Linked DNA regions of Homo sapiens: regions 1 and 3 are each linked to region 2. Evidence: promoter capture Hi-C in human tissues and cell types (Jung and others, 2019). All regions are on one chromosome and are shown on one strand. The core of a region is centred on a gene start or on the middle of the fragment in contact, and the rest is flanking DNA. Distances in the headings are between cores, read along the strand shown.

Region 1 (2,500 bases), core at 1-2,500, 74 kb after region 2:
TGCCTGGTCACCGGGGAGGAACTTTACAACATCACTGAAGGTTTGAGAATAGTGCTTCTGGCTGGTCGCGGTAGTTCCTAAGCTGCCTTTGTTCCCACTTCTCTGATCCAGGTTAACTTTTAACATTCTGACAAACTCGGACAAAAGTAACGTTGGGATTACGTCAGGAATTCCCACCCTTCAACAAATATTTGTTGCGGGCCTACTATGTACTCAGTGCAATGATACCCAATTTTGTAGTCTCCTAAACAGATCCTACTCGAGAGGTCTTGATTATTTACAGATGCAGTTAGAAAAGCGCCCATATTATTTTTAATTGAGTTCAAGAAATAGAATGCAGCGTTGAATTAGAAGACTAATTCCTTCTTTTAATATGTTGAAAATTTTTTATCGTTAAACATTTTGTAAAGGATTTTTTGAGGGAGTCGTTAGAAAGTCTATAAATACAACTACGCACACTAAAAAGTAGTCATCTTTTTAAAAATAACTTTGTTTAAATGCATGCTTAGTGTGAATGGATTTACCTAATTCTCTTAATAGCATGCATTTCTGATCTTCCCTACATTAACTGTAATAGCAACTGATATAACAGAAAAATGTAAGTGACTTGTAGTCGACTTGGCCACCTGCCACACGGGCTCGGTGAAGGTTAATGAGGAGCTATTTGGCACTTCGAGAATAGGTGGCACTAGACACAGAAATATCAACAGGCTATTTGTATGCTAACTAGGAGTTTCGGTGCCAGGTAACCATTGATGTACTCTTGCAGGAGAAAGAAGGATGTCGCTGTACGCCCCGAAAGAGAGGCATCATTTTTACGCCCAGTTTGGATTAATGATTGATTGAGTCGCAGAAATGCTTGTGATGCTGATAGAGGCCAATACTGGTCTTTCTGATCTCTTCCTCGTCGTTTATTACCTTCTCTTGTGGACAACGCATTCCTAAGAATGTATCTCTGCTTGTTTCCCAGTCCGCGAGATAAATGGTGACTTCTCTCTTGCAGGCACCGTCATACCTCGGGTTTAGATTCTGGACAGGCGAGCCGGCTGCACCGAAGGCCCGGTAGGCGGACTCTGGCGGAGCGCTTCAGAGAGAAGAGTGTAGACCGCGGGAGGCGGAGGGCTCCCTGCCAGCGTGCCTCGGCCAATCAGTATTCACACCGCCTGACAACCGGCCAATCAGAGGACGTAAAGCTCCGGGGCCTGAGCGGACAGTACTAGGAAGGGGAGCGCAGTCTGCAGACTGAAGCCAGTGGCGCTGCGCTGAATGCAACTGCGCGCGCCCGCCGGGTGAGCCAGCGATCTGAGCCAGGCGGGGGCGGCCCGACCTTTCCCGCCCAGCCTGGGTCAGAGGAAGCCGAAAGCGGCCTCAGCAAGGTGAGGCGCCCGAGGCTGCAGAAGACCGAGCAGAACTTTGCAGAGTTCGGGATGTGCTGGGCTAGGTCGCTGAGGACTTGACTGGCTTCCTCCCTCCTTCCCTCCACCTACCTTCTCCCTCCCCCTCCACCATCCAGTGGGTTCGTTCCGGGCCTCCAGCTATCAGCTCCCGATCTCGTGTTTGAGGGTAGCGACCCCGATTTCTGTTTGCATGCACAGCCAGCAGCCCTAGCGCCAGATCCTAAAGCTGGATATCTTTTAACTGGGCTACCAGCCCGGGCCTCAAAGTTTTGGTGAGTGCTGTGATGCCGCTCGGGGTGTCAGGGAGGGCAAAGGGCGTGAATCATCTTTCACCTTTTCTGTGTGACTTGGATGCCTTACCTTAAATATATAAACCAAGGCCTAAGTACAGAGAGCCCACGCGGCTCAGCCCTGTGCACCTCAGGTACTATTAAGGCTGGACGGGCGTCTGTATTGTGCTCTTTGCCCTTATGGGACGCTAATGACAACAAAATTTTGGTTTTCAGTTGAGTATTTTGGGGAGGGGGGTGAGAGGACCTCTTCAAGCCCAAGGAGGGGTCCTTGTGGTGGTGTAGGCTGATGAGAGGCATTTGGGAAGCATAGAGTGGTACTTCAGTGAGTCTGAAGGGCCACTTGTAATCAAAGGAAAACTGTTCTTCCACGGATAGTTTTATATGCATCATGGCCATACTAGTTGAGTATGGGGAAATCCGACAAGTGGCCTGGGGCTGCCTATTTGGACACAATATTTTGTGTGTGTGTGATAAGTGAGTTACCCAGGGACTTGTCCGGAAAGCCCGTGTAAAGCCAGAGAGGGCCACGGTTAAAGGTCAGGTACTCACAGAGCACTTAGAATTAATAAAATAAAACCTTTGTTGGGTTGTGGATCCCTGGGGGCCCTGGAGATACAGGAAAGGCACGTGTGGCCTGGAAGTGAGGGACATGTAATGAGAACAGGATGACTCAAGCGGCCGGAGGCGGGCAGACCAGGAGCTTTGGGCCGGAGGCTCAGGGATGGTCCCTGACGGCGGCCGGTGGGTCTTTGGATTTCTTTGTGTTTCCCCAGAGTGAGGGCCGCCAGGCTCAGGCCCCAGCGAAGCCCC
Region 2 (3,183 bases), core at 506-3,005:
GTTTTCCTAGAGAAGGTTGAGACTAGAGGAAGGATTAAAGTGGTGGGGGAAGGGGCAAGACCGAGGGGTCCCTACCCCACGCGGCTTTGGAGGATGGCCTCCCAGGGTTAGCACTCGAATGCTAGAGCTTCTTGTCCACACTCTACCAGGTCAGTGTCCCGCGATCCCCACCTCCCGGACGCGTATGAAACGGGAACAGCTAAGGGCTTCAAGGGAAACACACAACTGGGGTTCGGTTTTCAACCCTCCTCTCCGCAAATCAGCCTTCTGGGCAGAGGGTTGGCTGCTAGAACGCCTGGAGGTGCTTCCCTTGAATTCATGGCAAACACCAGAGGAAAGTTTTCAGGTTGCTTGCTTACTTCCAGGGCAGTACAGAGAAAAGCGGCCTCCCCGAGGGGACAAGGGCCTCTGTGCCCATGAGGGGTCGGACATTGCAGCGGACTTGCCTACGCTCTCATCTAGCATTTGATTCCCCACCAGGAGATGGGCTTGGTGCACGCTCTCAGAAGCGCATCCACCGAAGGCTCTGGAACTGCCCCGCTTCGCATAGAGCTATTGTGCTGCCCTGCAGTGTATCCACTTGTTTTGTTTGTTTGTTTGTTTTTTGGTTTTTGCTTGTTTGCTGATGGGCAGTGGGGAGGTGCGAGGGTGGAGGGCCTTCTTTGTGCATATATAGCGATAGTCTGCACTAGGCCAAGCCCGCTACTCCTGGGAGAATGGGAACACGCAAATAATCTAAACAAAGTTTTCTGCTGTCATCTTGTGAAGGACCCTCTCCCCCAAGACATCTATGACTGGGGTCTATGGGTTAAGGAGGTGAAAAAGTGGCCCCATCCCATATCCATAACTGAATCACAGAATCCGTGGGGATTTGAACTGAGTGGCTGGCGCAAGACCTCCGTTTGCTTCCAGTAGCTGCTGGGAGCGAGGGAAGAGGATATCGGTAACTTTGGGGGCGCCAATGTGGCTTCTGTGTCTGCCCCTTGAAAGTTTATACCCGGCGCTTAACAAATCCTTTACAGGAGCACGTACGTCCCTGACCTTTCAGGATACTGTTTTATATTAAAACATGGACAGGAGGGTAGAAAAGTAAAATTCGCCTGCAAAATGGCTTGTCATCCTTGGGCCGGCAGATCTCCAAAACCATTTTCTTCTAAAGCAACAAAAGAGAAAAAAATACGTTCTAAAAGGAAATTACGAAAAGAGCCTAACTTTCCTAAACCAACATCACTTCACTCCCCTATCCTAAACTCCACCCAGGTCCGGGGTGCAACCGCAACACTCCCGTAGGTTCGAGTTCTCCCGGAGCTGAGCTTCTGCGGCCAAATGTCGGGATAAAAGCGGCCTTGGGCTCGGAAAAACGCGGCCAGATCTGGACTGGAGGGAGGAGAAGAGAGAGAAGCGGAGCGGCCACCTCACTCGCTTACAGGCACCCCCACCCTCACTCCCGCTGGTCCTCCCCTTCTCCGCCCCGCGAGCACCGCCGCGTTCTGGAGCGCCGCAGTCTCCAGCCGCGGGCTGGGGTAGCGGAGAGGGCTTGGAGGAGGGGGCCGCGAGCGCCCCCGCGAGAGTGGCCTGGCTGCAGGTGGCAAGGAAGGTGAAGTGCAGGCACCCGAGGGGCGCAAAGGAGGAGGAAGGCGTGGGGCGGGGAGTGCAAGGAGACAGGGACCCCAGGGGCGGGGGTGGCGGTGGGAAGGAGGAGGGGTTGGGGGAGGGCGGCGGAGGTGTTGGGTCCGGCCGGCTCACGAGGGAGCTGCAGAAGAGCTGGCTCAGACCTTAATCAGAGCTGTCGCCGGCTCCTTGCAGCCGCCGCAGCGCCTCCGCGAAGGAGGACGTGCCGACCCGGCTGCGCGCCCAAGGCAGAGGCCCGCGTCGGCGTTGGCTGGGCGTGAGCTGGGAGGCCGAGCTGTGAGCGCGAAGGGAGCTGGAGAGACGACTGCGGCACCTCCGGCCGCCCCGGAGCACACACGACCACCGGGGCTGCGGGACCAAGGGCCGCGTCGCCCGGAGGCCGCCCCTGAGCGGGCCTCGCAGCCCCGCCGTCCAGCGCTCCCTGGCCCTCTCCCGCAGCCAGGCTGCCAACTCATTCGGGAGCCCGGGGCATGAACGGCTACGGCTCCCCCTACCTGTACATGGGCGGCCCGGTGTCGCAGCCGCCACGGGCGCCCCTGCAGCGCACGCCCAAGTGCGCGCGCTGCCGCAACCATGGCGTCCTGTCCTGGCTCAAGGGCCACAAGCGTTACTGCCGCTTCAAGGACTGCACCTGCGAGAAGTGCATCCTCATCATCGAGCGGCAGCGGGTCATGGCTGCGCAGGTGGCGCTGCGCCGGCAGCAGGCCAACGAGAGCTTGGAGAGCCTCATCCCCGACTCGCTGCGCGCTCTGCCAGGGCCCCCGCCGCCGGGGGACGCCGTCGCCGCCCCGCAGCCGCCGCCAGCCTCTCAGCCGTCGCAGCCGCAGCCGCCGCGCCCTGCTGCCGAGTTGGCCGCGGCCGCCGCGCTGCGTTGGACTGCCGAGCCGCAGCCCGGGGCTCTGCAGGCGCAGCTCGCCAAGCCAGGTAAGAGCGTCTGAGGTGCGGGAGTTTGGCCGGGCGCGGGGGCAACTTCGGAGTGCCAGCTGCAGCTCCACTTGGGAGGACTGGAGGCAAAGTTTTGGGACGTGGGCCTGTCGGGGCTTTCCTTCCTACTCTCCGCCAGGCCGGGGCTTCCTCTCCCGGGAGAAGCCGGCTGAGTCTGGACCCAGCGCGAGTGGCACTCGCGCCCGCAGGGAAGGCGCCTCCGGGCAGCCAAACGACGGGACTGTGCGTCAGTATCGCCAGGTGCCTTCCCAGGTTGAAGGGTTCGGAACGTGTCAGATTGAGCAGGGAGACAACGGAGTTGAGACAGGACAAAATTAAAACCCACGTGCGCACACTCACTACGGTGGGGTCGGATTTTCCTGGCTGCAGGCTTTAGAGGTCCTTGCCATTTGGGGGTTGGAATGGGTAGGTAGGTGTAGGGAAGGAGCCAAGGCCAACACTCGGCTGAGTCGAGCTGGCTGTGCTTCTCGGCCGGCCCGGCCCTGCCCAGGGCCCAGGAAAATTTGAGTGAGGACAAGTATCCAACTCTCAGAACCCTGGCCTTTCTAGCTTTGCTCCGTGGCCTCCAGACTCTTGTAACTGGTGAAATAAGTTCCATTTAGCAAT
Region 3 (3,523 bases), core at 651-3,150, 85 kb before region 2:
TAAAGTGGTTAAACATTTTAACAGCGTAAAGGCAGACATCTGCTCTTCCAAAGTTCAAATGGTTTTATTATTTAAATATTGGTATGGAACAACTTTTCCAATACATATCTCCTATTTATTCTTAAAGCTTGGTATAACTTGAAAGAGGAAATAAAATACGGGTAAGTGGAAAAGTGATGGTGTTGTTAACTAATTACAGTCAGCTGTAACAAAACAAATTATTGCTTTGACCTGACGTAGCATTTTAGTTGAGGTTTACTATGCAGTTTATTGAAGCCATTCTCTTGTTACCTTCAGAGTTATTACTGCCATTATTTTGTTGCTTGATAAACTGAGGCCTGATAAAAGGTTCAGATTAAGGTCATGCTGCAGAAATTCAAGAACTTGTGCTGTGCCCTGATTCTGGAATGCTGGAATCCTTGGGTTTCTATTTATTCGTCTGCTACTGTATTTTGTTTTCTTTTTTAAGAAGCTTGCTTTTGAAAGGCAGGCCTTAAGTGGGAGGTATTCAGTGTTTTTAATGCAGGGACAGGCCTAAGTGTCTAAAATGCCTTCCTAAATGTCTGTGAGATTGTATAGGAATGAACCATTAATGTTTATGACTGCATGGTAGGATAGGTCATTTATTCTTTTTCTGACTTAGATGCTCATATAATTTATTAAATTTGAGAAGCTCATAAGGCTTTTGTAATCAGATAAACAATAGAGACATGACCTTGAAAACAAAAGAATGATATAGAAAACCACCACTTAACGCCACCAAACGTGTTTTTTTTTTTTTTTTTTTTTGAGCCGGAGTCTTGCTCTGTCACCCAGGCTGGAGTGCAGTGGCGTGATCTTGGCTCAGGCCGACTGAGCTGAGATCTCAGGCCGCCCGCCTCAGCCTCCCAAAGTGCTGGGATTACAGGCGTGAGCCACCGCACCCGGCCCAAACTGATGTTTAAAATAAGAGAAAGGCCCAGTGGGGAAGTTGAGGAGGAGCGAATGGACATGTGCCCTCTCCAGACTTGGGGGTGTGGAATAATGGCATTGGAATGTCTCATCTCATTAGCTGGGAAGAGGAGAGAAGAAAGGAAAGGAATAGAATAAAACAGTGGTTTGGGAGTGCATTTACAGGAGCCTAGCATAGGTGGATTTGGTTTCCTTTCAGAGAAAAGTGACACCAATGCTGACTTTAAAATGAGGCTTCAAAAATAAATTTTGTTGTAGATCTCAGCCAGACCTTCCAGAGCTTGCACTTTAGTTTTGCCCTCTCCCTTGCATGTTTTTGTTTTCCCACACACTCAGCCAGTGGATGGTTTCTGGGCACCTTCTTTGGGCCATGCATTGTGCTGGAAATTTCTCTCATGAGCCAATTCTGTCTGCTTAAGGACACTTAAACCTCTATTTATTTCTTTATTTTTATTTTTTTATTTGAGACAGAGTCTCATTCTGTCACCCAGGCTGGAGTGCAGTGACGCGATCTCTGCTCACTGCAACCTCGGCCTCCCAGGTTCAAGCAATTCTCCTGCCTCATCCTCTGCAGTAGCTGGGTCTACAGGTACGCACCACCATGCCGATGTCCGGCTAATTTTTTTTTGTATTTTTTTTTTAGTGGAGACGGGGTTTCACCATGTTGGTCAGGCTGGTCTCGAACTCCTGACCTCAAATGATCAGACCTACCTCAGCCTCCCAAAGTACTGGGATTACAGGCGTGAGCCACCGCGCTCAGCCTTAAACCTTTTTAGAAAAGTGAAACAAGGCCAGGTGTAGTGGCTCATGCCTGTAATCGTAGCACTTTGGGAGGACAAGGTGGTTTGATTGCTGGAGCTCAGGAGTTTGAGACCAGCCTGGGCAACATAGTGAGACCCCATCTCTATACAAAAAAATTAAAAAAAAAAAAAGCTAAGAGCTTATTAAAATTCAGATTGCTTGAGCTCAGGAGTTCGAGATCAGCCTGGCCAACATGGTGAAACCCCGTCTCTACTTAAAAAAAATACAAAAATCAGCCAGGCATGGTGGCTTGCGCCTGTATTCCCAATTACTTGGGCTGCTGAGGTGGGAGGATCGCTTGAGCCCAGAAGGAGGAAGTTGCAGTGAGCCGAGATCGTACCACTGCACTCCAGCCTGGGCGACAGAGTGAGACCCTGTCTCAAATAAGTAAATAAACAAAATAAAAGTGAAACGACAAGATCTTATGACTCCCTGGAGGTTTTACTTTTTTTTTTTTTTCTCCCAGACGGAGTCTTGCTCTGTCGCCCAGGCTGGAGTGCAGTGGCCCAATATCGTCTCACTCCAACCTCTGTCTCCCAGGTTCAAGCGATTCTCCTGCCTCAGCCTCCCAAGTAGCTGGGACTGCAAGCATACGCCACCACGCCTGGCTAATTTTTTTTTTTTTTTGGTATTTTTAGTAGAGACAGGGTTTCACCGTGTTAGCCAGGATAGTCTTGATCTCCTGACCTCGTGAATCACCTGCCTCGGCCTCCCAAAGTGCTGGGATTACAGGCGTGGGCCACCGTGCCTGGCTGGAGCTTTTACTTTTAACTCACATTATTTTTGATGCCAAGCTACTTGAAAAATGATTATTCCTCAGTCCCTTCAGCAAATATTGACCCACTGTGTCTGGCAGTGTGCTAAGCACGGAGGACACAGTGGTGTGCCCGGAGGCTGGGTGCCTTCTTGCTGGATCTCACGTCCTGGTAGTCCTGGTAGGAGAGAGGCCATTCACTGGAGTCATCTCTTTGGATTTCTTGTTGCTTGTTGCTCCTTGCTCTCTTGCAGGCCTGCATCTGCTCCTTTCATCATGGTTAAAACCGCAAGGCCCTGAAGACCTAGTTGTCTGTTGGTCTTTTCTAGAACTGTTTGCTTGATGTCCCAGCAGCAGTTGACACCACAGCCTGCTTGCTCTGTGATTCAAGTCAGCTTTAACCTCTGTGACGTTGTATTCTCTGTTTTTCACGCTCCAGGTCTTGGCTCTCCTTTATTCTGTAACAGCTCCTCCCTTCCTTGCCCAGATGGAGCTAGCACCTCCAGTGGTGACTCTTGGATCTGGCTTCCAGTCTCAGCCTCTCCCAAAAGCACGCGTTTCATGTTCCTCACCCTCACCCAGCCCTCCACCTGCACACCTGCCCACCCTCTGCTCTACACACCCAGGCTCCTGCTCTCTGCCTCCCCTGCATCTTAATTCCTGGCAGCCCCTCAGCCCTCCAGTTCTGTTGCGTTTCATCCCCCACATGTCCCTGGAACAGGCTCCTCTCTTACATTTGCAGGCCTTAGAGTTCTGGTCTGTCCTTGAACTCACTTTGGTGGTTCCCTAGCAGGTCTTTCTGCCTCTGATCTCTCTCTCCTTCACTTGCCCTAAGCAGTTGCCCTTAGATAAATCTCCTCCAAGCACAGCTCTGACCGTGTAACCTCCTTGCTCAGAACTCAGTGGTTCCCATTACATCCCAGAGTCAGGAGAGCTGGACTGAGGCCCGCCTCACCTTACCCTAGCCCATCTTTCATACTACATGTCTCCTTCCCTTTTCTCATCCAGTTCCTCAGC

The links. The method cuts DNA at HindIII sites, captures the fragments that hold promoters and counts their contacts. A contact is called where the count stands out against the background at its distance.
Region 1: a contact is called between the fragment with the promoter of DMRT2 here and the fragment with the promoter of DMRT3 in region 2, in 1 of the 25 tissues and cell types used here (neural progenitor cells).
Region 3: a fragment that was not itself captured here is called in contact with the fragment with the promoter of DMRT3 in region 2 in 11 of the 25 tissues and cell types used here (H1 embryonic stem cells, adrenal gland, dorsolateral prefrontal cortex and 8 more).

Annotation. Positions count from the first base shown.
Region 1 is chr9:1,049,107-1,051,606 of GRCh38, forward strand. It overlaps DMRT2 (doublesex and mab-3 related transcription factor 2), which reads left to right and starts at 1,251. Exons shown (of 4, transcript NM_181872.6): 1 at 1,251-1,669; 2 at 2,464-2,500. RefSeq lists an enhancer at 1,023-1,892. The HindIII fragment of the contact is 14,990 bases long and covers 1-2,500 here.
Region 2 is chr9:974,900-978,082 of GRCh38, forward strand. It overlaps DMRT3 (doublesex and mab-3 related transcription factor 3), which reads left to right and starts at 1,756. Exons shown (of 2, transcript NM_021240.4): 1 at 1,756-2,556. The coding sequence starts at 2,103. RefSeq lists enhancers at 1-389, 922-1,423, 1,424-1,923. The HindIII fragment of the contact is 20,406 bases long and covers 1-3,183 here.
Region 3 is chr9:889,318-892,840 of GRCh38, forward strand. The region is part of intron 2 of DMRT1 (doublesex and mab-3 related transcription factor 1); the gene reads left to right. Among named protein-coding and RNA genes, the nearest start is that of DMRT1, 49 kb to the left of the region's middle. The HindIII fragment of the contact is 7,219 bases long and covers 1-3,523 here.